2 separate regions of the Homo sapiens genome follow, and region 1 is linked to region 2. Evidence: promoter capture Hi-C in human tissues and cell types (Jung and others, 2019). All regions are on one chromosome and are shown on one strand. Each heading gives the region's core, a stretch centred on a gene start or on the middle of the fragment in contact. The rest is flanking DNA. Distances are from core to core; before and after follow the strand shown. Region 1 overlaps KCNN3 (potassium calcium-activated channel subfamily N member 3). Region 2 holds the start of LENEP (lens epithelial protein).

The links. The method cuts DNA at HindIII sites, captures the fragments that hold promoters and counts their contacts. A contact is called where the count stands out against the background at its distance.
Region 1: a fragment that was not itself captured here is called in contact with the fragment with the promoter of LENEP in region 2 in 1 of the 25 tissues and cell types used here (H1 embryonic stem cells).

What each region holds. Positions count from the first base shown.
Region 1 is chr1:154,763,571-154,769,531 of GRCh38, reverse strand. All of the region lies in intron 3 of KCNN3 (potassium calcium-activated channel subfamily N member 3), which reads left to right. Among named protein-coding and RNA genes, the nearest start is that of KCNN3, 100 kb to the left of the region's middle. The HindIII fragment of the contact is 3,402 bases long and covers 584-3,985 here.
Region 2 is chr1:154,988,754-154,994,982 of GRCh38, reverse strand. It overlaps LENEP (lens epithelial protein), which reads right to left and starts at 1,397. Exons shown (of 1, transcript NM_001394530.1): 1 at 668-1,397. The coding sequence starts at 1,375. The coding sequence ends at 1,190. It overlaps FLAD1 (flavin adenine dinucleotide synthetase 1), which reads right to left. Exons shown (of 7, transcript NM_025207.5): 2 at 6,134-6,229; 3 at 5,276-5,423; 4 at 4,726-4,824; 5 at 4,455-4,644; 6 at 2,197-2,270; 7 at 1,872-2,081. The coding sequence ends at 1,946. The HindIII fragment of the contact is 8,242 bases long and covers 1-6,229 here.

The DNA.
Region 1 (5,961 bases), core at 1,035-3,534, 230 kb after region 2:
GATGATGCACCTTATTTGATATTGCATGGCCTTCCATAGCTTCCAAGCTGAGGCTGGGTTAGTTTGGTCCCTGGTGGGCCACTGGGTCTCTCTCTCTCTCTCTGCAGACATGGGTCACAAGCCCCCGCTAAGACCAAGGCACAGAGGAACAATGAGCAAATCGGAAATTCTCTGAAAGTTCCCTTCTCTTGCGAAAAGGCCATTTGACCAAAGACTTAGGTATAACATGAGGTGTATTAAAGCATGGTGGATGTTATTGTTGCACCCCTGTGCTAGTTCTGTGTAAAATCCATATGTCATCCCAGCTTGCCCTCACAATAGATCTATGAGAGAGGTACCTTGCCTGAGGGAAGGAGAGCCCGGGTCCTGGAGGGGCATTTGGGTGAAGCAACATGTCATCCACTACATGGATGTGTTTGAATTGGACATGAAGGCTCATGGGAGAGTTGAGGAAACTGATAGAAAGTAACTGGCCCGAGGTCACAGAGCTATTAATAATAAGCGTGGAGCCAAAATCTGAACTGGTTTCTGACTCTGAACTTCCATGTGTGTGTCACCAACCCAGGCTGAATCCTGCACATACGAGGAAATCTTGGCCTCTACTCTACTGGCAACTTTCCCAATCTCAGAGTCTTAAGGCCACTGAGACTAACATGTGAATCCCAGTCTTGCTGTTTTCTCTGCCTCTGCTGCCTATGGTCTTGACCATGTTATCATACTAGCCTCCTGGGCTGCCTTCATGTCCAATTCAAACACATCCATGTAGTGGATGACATGTTGCTTCATGTCAACATGAAGGGGACAGATGCCCCCTCCAGGACCCGGGCTCTCCTTCCCTTAGCTGGGGTTGTGACTGAGTCCCTCTCTTCAGGTCAAACCCCTTGCCTGGGGGCAGCAAGCTCCCGAGGGGATTTGTCAGTGTGGGAGTTCAAAGGCCTAACCCCGTTTGCTTCTAGTAGGACACTCAGCCAGGCTCCAGGGTCCCTGAGGGATCGCCTAAGGCCTCTGTTACCACTGCATCCGGGAACTTCCTCTATACCCCAGAGGTATTGATCCTGAGAGCAGCCCCAGTAAAACTCCCACCCCCAAATCTCAGCATCTCACAGACTGTTTCCCAGGAATCTGCCCCGTTAATATATTGTTTCCTAAACAGGCAAAGCACTTCTCTTACCAAGACTAAGCACTATTTTTAGAATCAAGCTTAAATGATCATTCTGTTTCCCAATGTCAAATAATAAGTAAGATTGGCAGAGGCCTTCAGCCAGGACTTATTCAGCCAGAGACTGGACAGAAGCTGGAAGCAGGGGAAGCTTTGGGGAACTGAAGCGTCAGACCAGGGTAGTGTGGACAGGATGCCTTGATCTCTCTCAGCCTGATCTAATGATGATTCTATCACCTTAGGCATCAGAGAGGGTAAGTGACTTGCCCAGGGTCACACAGCAGCATGACAGGTTCTAGAAAAATCCACAGCTGCTGATGCCCAGAGCCTGTTCACATTCCAGGTAGCTTTCATCAGCCTGGACTTATCTCTAGTTGTATACACACACTTCTGAAGTTGCTATGGAAATCTCTCTACAGCAAGATGTATTTTAAAAGACAGTTCTCATATCTTGGGTTGGTTTTTATGTGACAACAAAGGTTTTTCATATTTCCTCCTCCCAAGGAGAGAAAGTGGGATCATAATTACGCAGAACAGCCGTGCCATGGGGAGGGCAGCGCCTGGTTGCTGGGAGGGCAGTGACAACAGTGGGCTTGTTTTCCTTGGCCCCCAGAGAGGCATTACATCATGGGTTCCGAGGCCTGACAGTTGTGGCACTCTGCATTCTCTGGGATTCTCCTGGCTGCCTGCCCACCTCCCTCAGGGAGGAACCTCCTGATTTTACACTGTCAAGTGCCAAGCAGCTTTACTGGTGGAGAGACCATCTGAGGCCCCGGGTCCTCACTGCGGCAGCAGGTTGGAGAGCCAGCCTTCCTAGCGTGCCTTGAGCAGTGCAGTGGCCTGCCAGCTCACCTTTGTATGTTTATCTCCTTGGGAGGAGCAACAAGGCCTCCCATAACATTGATGAAGTGGGGTGAGCCTTGCTGTCACAGCCATGCTTTATAAATGACCTTACTGTCCTCTTGAGTGGATTCCCTTCGGACCCTTTGGACCCTTCACTTTGGTCCCTCCTGAGGCTCCAAATTCTGCAACAGGCTGTCTCAGTGTCCCAGGCCTTCCAGTCTGTCAACAGGTTTTTTATTTTGCTGGTTAACTTTTGGCATACTGATATTTTAATGAGAAATTTTATTCTGGAGATCTGGCTCCTAAAGCAGGAGAAAAACAATTTGTGGCCCATTCTTTCTCTCATTAAGAGAGCCACCACTCCCATTGTAAGGAGATAAAAAGAGGCTTCCTTGCTGTACTCTCTTCTGCCCCTGCCTCAGACACCCAGGCCTGCACTTGCCAGCAGCAGGAAGCAAGACCACAGCTCCCTCCTCCTCCCATCTCCTTCCCACAACCTCCTACCCCCTCCAAGAAGGGGTACTTCCACTCCAAGAAAACAGTAGGAATGGCCAGGCTCGGTGGCTCACGCCTGTAATCCCAGCACTTTGGGAGGCCGAGGCGGGCAGATCACGAGGTCAGGAGATCGAGACCATCCTGGCTAACACGGTGAAACCCCCGTCTCTACTAAAAATACAAAAAAATTAGCCGGGCATGGTGGCACACACCTGTAGTCCCAGCTACTCGGGAGGCTGGGACAGGAGAATGGCGTGAACCCAGGAGGCGGAGCTTGCAGTGAGCCGAGATCACGCCACTGCACTCCAGCCTGGGTGACAGAGCCAGACTCCATCTCAAAAAAAAAAAAACAAACCCCAAAACAAAACAGTAGGAAAGTGGTCATTACAGGGATGAAGCACCCTACATGGGGTTGATGGAAGCCTGCAAGCTAAACCCTGTAGGCTGAGCAGAACTGAGCAGAGCCTGGGAACAGTGGGGCCAGGCACTGTGGTTCCTCATGGACTGCTTTGGTTTGAGTTATAACCTCCAATGTGGGGCACACGCACAGTGATCCATGGGACTATTGGGAGAAATGATCAGAACTTCTACATATATATATATATATATATATATATAAAGCCTGGCTAGTATTTAATAAATGGATAGAGAGCAATACATGTCTGTAATTTATAATAAATATATGTATAATGGAGGAGGGCATGCTCAAAAAATTTTTAATTGGTAGGAGCCCATGATTTTAAAAGTTTGCAAACCACTGGTTTATGATATCAGAGGACTAGTTAGAGAGGATAGGAAAGTAGCCTACCACATGGGATGAAGCCTGCTAGACCCAGGAACCCTGCCCTCTAGCTGGAGAAGTGAGAAGTTAGCCTCCTGTAGGGAAGGAGCAGCCTGTAGCGATCCCCTTCTGGTGCCAGGCGGAGAGATAGATGGCTGGGGAGGGGGAAGGTGGGGAGGCGACAGGGATCCTGCTGGAGGCCTTTGAGAAAAACCTGCAGCATTAAGGAAGAGGAAAATAATCCTGAAGATTCCTGAAAAATGTTTAATTATGAAAAACAAAAAGCAACATTAGAAGAGTCTTGGGTGGCCAGGCACAGTGGCTCACGCCTGTAATCCCAACACTTTGGGAGGTCAAAGCAGGTGGATCGCTTGAGGTCAGGAGTTGGAGACCAGCCTGACCAACACAGCAAAAACCCATCTCTGCCAAAAACAAAACAAAACAAAACAAAAAAAAACCAAAAAAAACATTAGCCGGGAGTGGTGGTGCATCTGTAGACTCAGGAGGCTGAGGTGGGGGGATCACCTAACCTGGGAGGTCAAGAGTGCAGCGAGCAGAGATTGCGCCACTGCACTCCAGCCTGGGTGACAGAGTGAGACCCTGTCTCAAAAAAAAAAAAAAAAAAGGAAAAAGAAAGAAGAGTCTTGGGCATCTCTAATAGGGTGCCAGAATATATATGATCCTTATGATAGAGAAGAGTGGGCAGATGTGAAATGAAAATGTATCTGGTTCACATAAGCACAGAGTTCCAGAAAACTAAAATTGTTTTAGCAAAATGAAAATCCACATTGATGGCACTACATTTTTAAAAATGTGGAATGTGGAGACAAACTTAAAAAATTTAAAGCTCTCTCAGAATGCAGAAGAGATAAGAGAAAGGATGAATAGGACAGAACTGGAGGCTATAGGATCCAGGTGAAATCTAAGAATTAGAGTTATTTCAGAGGAAGAAATGATAAATTTGGATAAAAGCATAATCAGAAATATACGCACAGTAAACATTTTCAGAATTGGCCTAGGTAAGGGGATGTTGTGTGTGGGGATGGTAGATCAGAGTAGGCAGATCGAAACGGATTCCTCTTTTCCAGTTAGAATGTGGGGGACAGGAGGAGCCACCCCTAGACATACCCCAATACATTCTTTTTCTGGAAAATTTATTGAATCATAAGGTGAAACAATCCTAGAGGCACACAGGCATCCCAGAGCTGACTCTCCCTCAGGAACCCTAAATTCAGAGTCATTAGAACAGTTCCACAGTATTTTAAATTTGGATCCACCCTGTCATTTGAATGAGGCAACCAAAGGGCAACAAAAGTCATTCTTGGAGTTTACTTTTGGGGGGAACTCGTTTGCCAGTTGACCAAAGACTGAATCACAATTAAGATCTTAATAATGAAATGTTGTAAAGAAAGGCAGACATTGGTTCACACAGGCAAACATGAAATCAAGACTAAACTTACGCGTAGTTGCAAAACTCCAAATTCTAATGTCAAAGAAAAAGTAGATTCTGGAAAGAGTGGATGTATGAAATTAAAGCAATAATTCAATAATAATTAGAGGGTTGCAAATCCTCAGATTAAAAATTTGAGAGGAGAAGGCTAGAAGGGATTAGTAAAAGCATGCCAGATGCGTTGTCCTATGTAGAGGAGAATTTTAAAATAAAGCCCTATTACTCAGTTTTAGCAATCAGAGAAATATTTTTTTTAAAACCTAAAGGAACCACAGGCAAAATTTTATGAGTATAACAAGAATAACAGTAGCATCAGCCATATATTGTTTCACTTAATCCATACCATAGTTCTATGAGACTGTATCTGCATTCTGTATATGAGGATGTTGAGACACAGAGAGGTTGAGCGATGTGCCTCAGGCCACAGAGCCAGCAGACTTGAGACTCCAACACCAGCCTGAGAGCCTTTTCCCTACCCTGAAAACATATACCTCCCATGCCACATCAGAGCCCACATAGCTAAGACAGAAAAAATAAAGGAAGCAGGAAGGAAGAATTTCAATACAAAGTATGAAAGAAGATCAGAGAAAAACAAACTTAAAATTTATAACAATCAACATAATTGTGTTTACCTCCTTGTTAAAAGTAAATGTCTCTTAGATGAGATTTAAAAGCAAAATTTAATTGCATGCAATTTACAAAAGAAGTACCTAGAACAGAAGGACCCAAAAATAAATGAAGAGCAAAGATTTATTAGGTAAGTACAAATCAGATGGCAAACGAATAGAAATTCTCATTTTAAACCAAAATGAATTCAAAACAGAAATCATTAAATTGTCCAAAAGAACCATTTAATATGGATAAAAGTGCTATATACAGTAAAACTGTGAATTTTATACAAAAAATGAGATTGATAATCTGAATTTTTAAATGTTTAAATTAATTGAGCACTTTGTAGCCTATAAACAAACATCTTCTTTTTAAGCATCCAGGGAACACTTTAAAAAATTGATCAACTTCTTGGTCACACATTTCAAAACATCAGAAAAGTTGCTCGGGCTGTATTCTCTGACCACAAGCCTATAAAACTCCAATTAAAGGACAACTTTTTGGTGGGACTTTTAAAGCAATCTCCTCAATTACAACAGAGAATTCAAAACTACCGTTAAAGGCTATTAGAAAATTACAACAATGATGACCCTGTACGTAAAAACTCAGGATGTGACCAAAGGT
Region 2 (6,229 bases), core at 148-2,647:
GGAAATACTGAACAGTCCCAAACAGGCTGGCTCTGAGGTTTGGGGGGCTGTGGGTGGGCAGATCAGTAAGCATAAGCACCCCCTGAGCAAGACGATACACATGGCTGGTGTATATCTACCACCGGGAGTAACTCATGGAAAATACCAGCTGTGGCTACCAAGAGGAAGTAAAGAGCCAATTCTGCTCAATCTAGCTGTTTATGTCCTGATAGGGCTGTGTCATGATAAGCCTGAGGGACCTGTGTGGCCACACAGGTGTCTTTCTCTGGTAACTTTGTATGTGAGCTGGGAGCTCTTGTAGCTCATGGGGTCCTACTTCCTTGATGAGCTGGGGACTAGCCTCAGCGCAGTGCTTTCCCCAAGATCCTCAGAGGCAGGAAGCTGCCTGGACCAGGTCTTCTATTTGGGAAAGGGCTGGGTCCTCTGGGTTTCCACACACCCTTGGCCTCACAGATGAAGACCCTACTCAAGCTGGGTCCCCTCCTTACCCACAGATTGAGAGGAACCTGAACTGTCTTCCACCCTCCCCACTCAGGAACCAGTGAGTCAGAAAACCTGGCTTTCAATCTTGGTTCTATTCAGGACAAGCTCCTTCCCTCCCTGGTCTGCACCCTTGCTCCCAGACCGTTCTAGTGCTGACTTTTTCTGATTCCCCTTTAGACACTTATAATCTTGGGCCTCAAGGCCTATGGATTATATTTATAATTCAGTGATTCTCAAACAGGTTTCTTAGGGGGCAGTCCATTCTTGGTACTATGAGGGTATGGTAAGATCAACCATCTGAGCTGGTGGGCTCACTGTGCCAAGCTTGGAGGAGTGCCAGGTCTTGCCACAATCTTACTGGGGTCCTAGCCAGAGCAGTCCAAGCTCCTGCCCACCAGAGGTCCACCAGAGGCAGGGGTTGGGAATGAAGGAGGCTCAGAGATGAGGCAGGTCTGCTAGATGACACAGCTCAAAGCAGGATCCACACTTTACTGTTTACTCATTGTTTATGGCCCATCCTTGGTCAAGCACAGCTGGCTTCAGGAGTCTTGATGGCAATTGGGCTGGGGGCTAAAGAAGAGAATGAGAAGCTAAGGCAAGCTCTGCCACAGAAGCTGCAGCTATGCCTCCTGTTTACTCTACCCTGCCCACCTGAGCGATGCCAGCCATGGTGCTGGTGGGGAGAGGAGGCAGTTCCCTGCTACCATTAATCCAGCAGTTCCTTGATACACCAGCAGCAGAGGAGGATGTAGGCGACTTCCTTCAGGGTCCGCTGGAAGCCCTCCCACCCTGTGCCCATCTTAATGACAGGCACCCGCAGCCCAGTGTCTCGAGGGGCCCCTCCGAGGAAGAAGGGTAGGGTTTGGGCTAGGGGCTGTGTCCGGGGCTGCATGTGGGCAACAGTTCCGAGGAAGGGTGTGGGAGCTGCCTCTAGTGCCTTTTATCAACACTGTCCCCACCCCCTTCAGCCTCATGACTACAGAGACAAAGGATCCAGGGTCTAGCAAAGGGAAGGTTCTAGGCCTGGGAACAGGCTGAGTCAGCCCCTCTAGACAGGGATGGGAGGGTGGGGTTAGTGGGAGGGAGGGCCTGGCCACTCCATCTTTCATCCTCCACAGCTAGGCCAAGGCAGCTTCCCCTCTTCCAGCCCAGGTGGTGCCCTGCCTGATTGCCCTTTTCCCAGTGGTTGGCACAACTCCTGCTTTCGCCCTCTGGTGGGCTCCTGCTGAGGCTGACATTGAGAACCATCAGTGAGAGCTCCTTTCCAGCCTGTTCTGCCCTGCCCCTGGGCCCCTTAGAGTGAGCACAGCCAGTCAGAGCTGGCAGCATTTGACCCACTTCTGCTTCTCCCATCCTCTGGAGCAGGAAGACACAGCTAGAGCAACAGGCACAGTGAGAGGCACGGTTTATTGCCAGGTTATACCCTAGGACGGTGTCCTTCCCTCCCTCCTAGGGTGGGAGGTCATGTGCGGGAGTTCCGCTCCTCTTCTTCGTTCTCCAGTAGATAGGCTGGACGGTATGTGGGGTGTCCTCCTGGGCTCAGGCACTTCAGGGCCGGGTTCCGCACGGTATTCTCCCGACTCCCCAGTGATGTGTATCTGGAGCAGGGAGGGTGGAGGGCAAGCATGTGGTAGGGTGGGCGATCCTATTGGCCCTCCCTATCCCAGCACCCTAAAAACTCCCTTACCCATTCCCTTCCCCTAATACCCTTACCCTCGGTCATACAGGATACAGTATGGGACAAACAGCTGACGCAGAAAATCCCAGATGTCTCTGTAGGTCCAGTCCTGGGAGGTCAGAGTAATAGAATAGTCACAAATGCTCACCTTTCCCACTTCTACCCCTGCTGTCCTGGGAAGGGGCCCATCCATGGCTCTTCTGCTCCCTTGGCCTCTGAGGGAGGGCTTGCTATCTGATTCTCTGGTATAGCTTGCTCTATGTATGCAAAGAGAAAGAGAAGGACTTCATCTTCTCCACTCTCTGCTTTCCATTCTTGAACCACCCTCTAGTGCAAGGGTGGAGCTTGAGGACAGGGAGAAACCGTCTATTTTTTTTTTGAGACGGAGTCTGGCTCTGTCGCCCAGGCTGGAGTGCAGTGGCGTGGTCTTGGCTCACTGCAACCTCTGCCTCCCGGGTTCATGCCATTCTCCTGCCTCAGCCTCCCGAGTAGCTGGCACTACAGGCGCCCACCACTGTGCCCAGCTAATTTTTTGTATTTTTAGTAGAGACGGGATTTCACTGTGTAGCCAGGATGGTCTCCATCTCCTGACTTCATGATCCGCCCGCCACGGCCTCCCAAAGTGCTGGGATTACAGGCGTGTGCCACCATGCCCGGCCCTATTTTTTTTTTTTTTTTTGAGACGGAGTCTTGCTCTGTCACCCAGGCTGGAGTGCAGTGGCGCGATCTTGGCTCACTGCAACCTCCGCTTCCCAGATTTAAGCAATTCTCCTGCCTCAGCCTCCTGAGTAGCTGGGATTACAGGCATGCGCCACCACAGCCGGCTAATTTTTGTATTTTTTTAGTAGAGATGGGGTTTCACCATGTTGGTCAGGCTGGTCTTGAAATCCTGACCTCGTGATGTGCCTGCCTCGGCCTCCCAAAGTGCTGGGATTACAGGCGTGTGCCACCGTGCCCAGCCCTATTTTTTTTAGACAGGGCCTTTACTGTTGCCCAGGCTGGAGTGCACTGGCATGATCATGGCTCACTACAGCCTCGACTTCCCTGGCTCAAGCGATCTTCCCGCCTCAGCCTGAGTAGCTGGGACTACAGGCATTGATCAGCCCACCTCGGCCTCCCAGAGTGCTGGGGTTACAGGTGTGAGCCACTGTGCCTGGCCAGAACTTCCTGTGATGATGGAAATGTTCTGTATCTCTACTGTCTAATATGGTGGTCATTTGAAATGTGGCTAGTACAACTGAATAACTGTATTTTTTTTTTGTTTGTTTGGACGGAGTCTCACTCTGTTGCTCAGGCTGGAGTATAGTGGTGCCATCTTGGCTCACTGCAACCTCTGCCTCCTGGGTTCAAGTGATTCTCCTACCTCAGCCTCCTGAGTAGTTGGGATTACAGGTGCCTGCCACCACGCTCCGCTAATTTTTGTATTTTTAGTAGAGACTGGGTTTCATCATTTTGGTTAGGCTGGTCTCGATCTCCTGACCTCAGGCGATCCACCTGCCTCAGCCTCCCAAAGTGCAGGGATTACAGGTGTAAGCCACTACGCCCGGCCTGTGTATGTGTGTGTGTATATATATATATACATATATATATATATATTTTTTTTTTTTTTTTTTTTGAGACAGAGTCTTGTTCTGTTGCCCAGGCTGGAGTACAGTGGTGCCATCTCAGCTCACTGCAACCTCCGTCTCCTGGGTTCAAGCAATTCTCCTGCCTCAGCCTCTCGAGTAACTAGGACTACAGGCCACCACGCCTGGCTAATTTTTTGTATTTTTAGTAGAGACAGGGTTTCGCCATGTTGGCCAGGCTGGTCTCGAACTCCTGGCCTCAAGTGATCTGCCCACCATGGCCTCCCAAAGTGCTGGGATTACAGGCGTGAGCCACTGCGCCCAGCCAGAACTGAATTTTTAATTGTACTTAATTTTAAAAATTGAGGTATCCACATACCATCAAATTCATCCTTTTAAAGTATATAATTCAGTGGTTTTTAGTCATATGTATTTCATTCTAATTAATTAAAATTTAAGTATAAATAAATAATTAATGGCTATATTGGACAGCACAAGTCTAAGTCACTATTCTATCCACAGTAGGAAGTGCAATGCCTGCTATTGAATTTGGGCTCAATAAATATTGGTCAAAAGGATGAATGAACAGATAGCACTGCCTCCCTTGGATGATGAGGCCCCTTCATCCAGGTTCCAGGCTCTAGCCTCCCCACTACTGCAGGTGAGCTAGGGTGCAGTGACTGCTGGGGCACGTGAGACTGAAGGTGATAAACCCTCTTCCCCATTACCAGCAGTGGGTTGATGCGCATGAATGCGGGCCAGCCTGGGTCAGTGGGGCTGAAAGGGCAGAGGCTACAGGAGTAGGGGTCAGTCCGGCGGGTGCCCATAAGGACAGCCTCCAGCTGGGGGTGCCGTGCCTGCAGTTCACCCAGGGCCTGCTTCATGCTGCCCTCAGCTTCCAACATCTGCAGATTATACCTTAGGAAGAAACAGAAGTAGGGGTCGGGCGTGGGCTCTGTCAAGCTTCTCTTGGAGCCCAAACCTCCAGGCCCCTAGTACCTCTTGATAGTGTCCTGTAGAAACTGTTCCAGCTCAGGGAAAGGGGAGATGCTGCGGATATACAGGATCTGGAGGGGGTTTGGAACATCAGGTAATTTCCTGCAGAGGGGGAAGAATCCACAGGCTTGTGAGCATGGACAAGGAAATGGCTCCCCTGAAACAGCTCACTGTTCTCGTTGGCCCCTAGGACAGACTCTCACCCCTTCTCCCTTTTCCTTGTCCTTTCCATCCATTAGACCCACTTCCTCTGGGAAGCCCACTCTGACCTTTCACCTCTCAAATCTAAGCACGCATCCCTGGTTCAGGTATGTAAATCTCTCATCTCCCCAGCAGGACTGTGACCTCCCTGTCGTCAGGGATAGTGGCCTGCACATCCATACACAAGGCCAGGCACATATCATATACTCAATATGGTGGGAGAATGGAACTGAGAGGTCACCATGACTATCTCCCTCTTGAACTCCACCTGTACACCCCCTTTCTCCTTGCTTTCTGGGATGTGGAACTGGAGAAACAGATCAGGGGTCTTGTCTCCCGGGGGCAGGCTCACCTCTGCACAGCTGCATGGAAGAGGTGCAGGAGGGCAGTGCAGTCTTTGCCCCCGTTGAAGCCCACACAGAGCTGGGTGAGGCTGTACTGAGCCAGGGAGGTCTCAATGGTCTGTAGGGCACCTGCCACCTTTTTCCCCAAAGAAGACCCTGCCAAGCAGGCAGGGAAGAGGGCATCAGATGGACACATATGGCTATCAAAGGGGAGTGAAGGCATGCTGCCCTTGCTTAAACCCTTCAATATCTTCCCAGTGTTCTGAGGATAAAGTCCAAACTCCTTCATGCTGCCCGCTAGGCCCTGCAGTCTGCCCCTGACCTGCCCTGCCATCTGCCACCCAGCCACACCTCACAGTAGCCTCAGTGTCATTCCTCTGTAGCAGGGGGTGTGGGGTGTGGGCTTCCTTCCATTCCCTAACCCCATGCTGCTTCCTTGCAGGCCCTCATTCATACTGTTGGCTCTTGCCCACCTACTGAACTGATCAAATCCTCCTTATCACTCAGTTTATGTCATTTGGCCTTCTCTGACCCCAGATCAAGGCTGATCTCCCTGCTGTGGGAGATCACTCCTTTCATCACCCCATGCAGGATCACCTGTTTAATGTCCATCTTTTTTTGTTAAAACACTGGTCCATAAGAGCAGGGCATACATTATCCTATTGAGCCATATCCCCAACACCTAGCACAGTGCTGATGAAAATAGGTACTCAATCAACATTTATTGGAAGAATAATGAATTAACAGAAGCTATCTTCTGCCCTCTCAGGGATTTGCAGGAAGCACCCAACAGCCCCTGCATTACTGAGATCTGGGGTGCCACCAATGGCTTTGGGCATAATGCCCCTCCTCCATAAGGTCCCTACCTGATTCAGCGAGTTTGTATACAGCCTCACTGGCCTGCTCCACAGCGTTGGGCATGTAGGGGACCAGCGATCCCTGGGGCAAACGGGCAGTCAGGT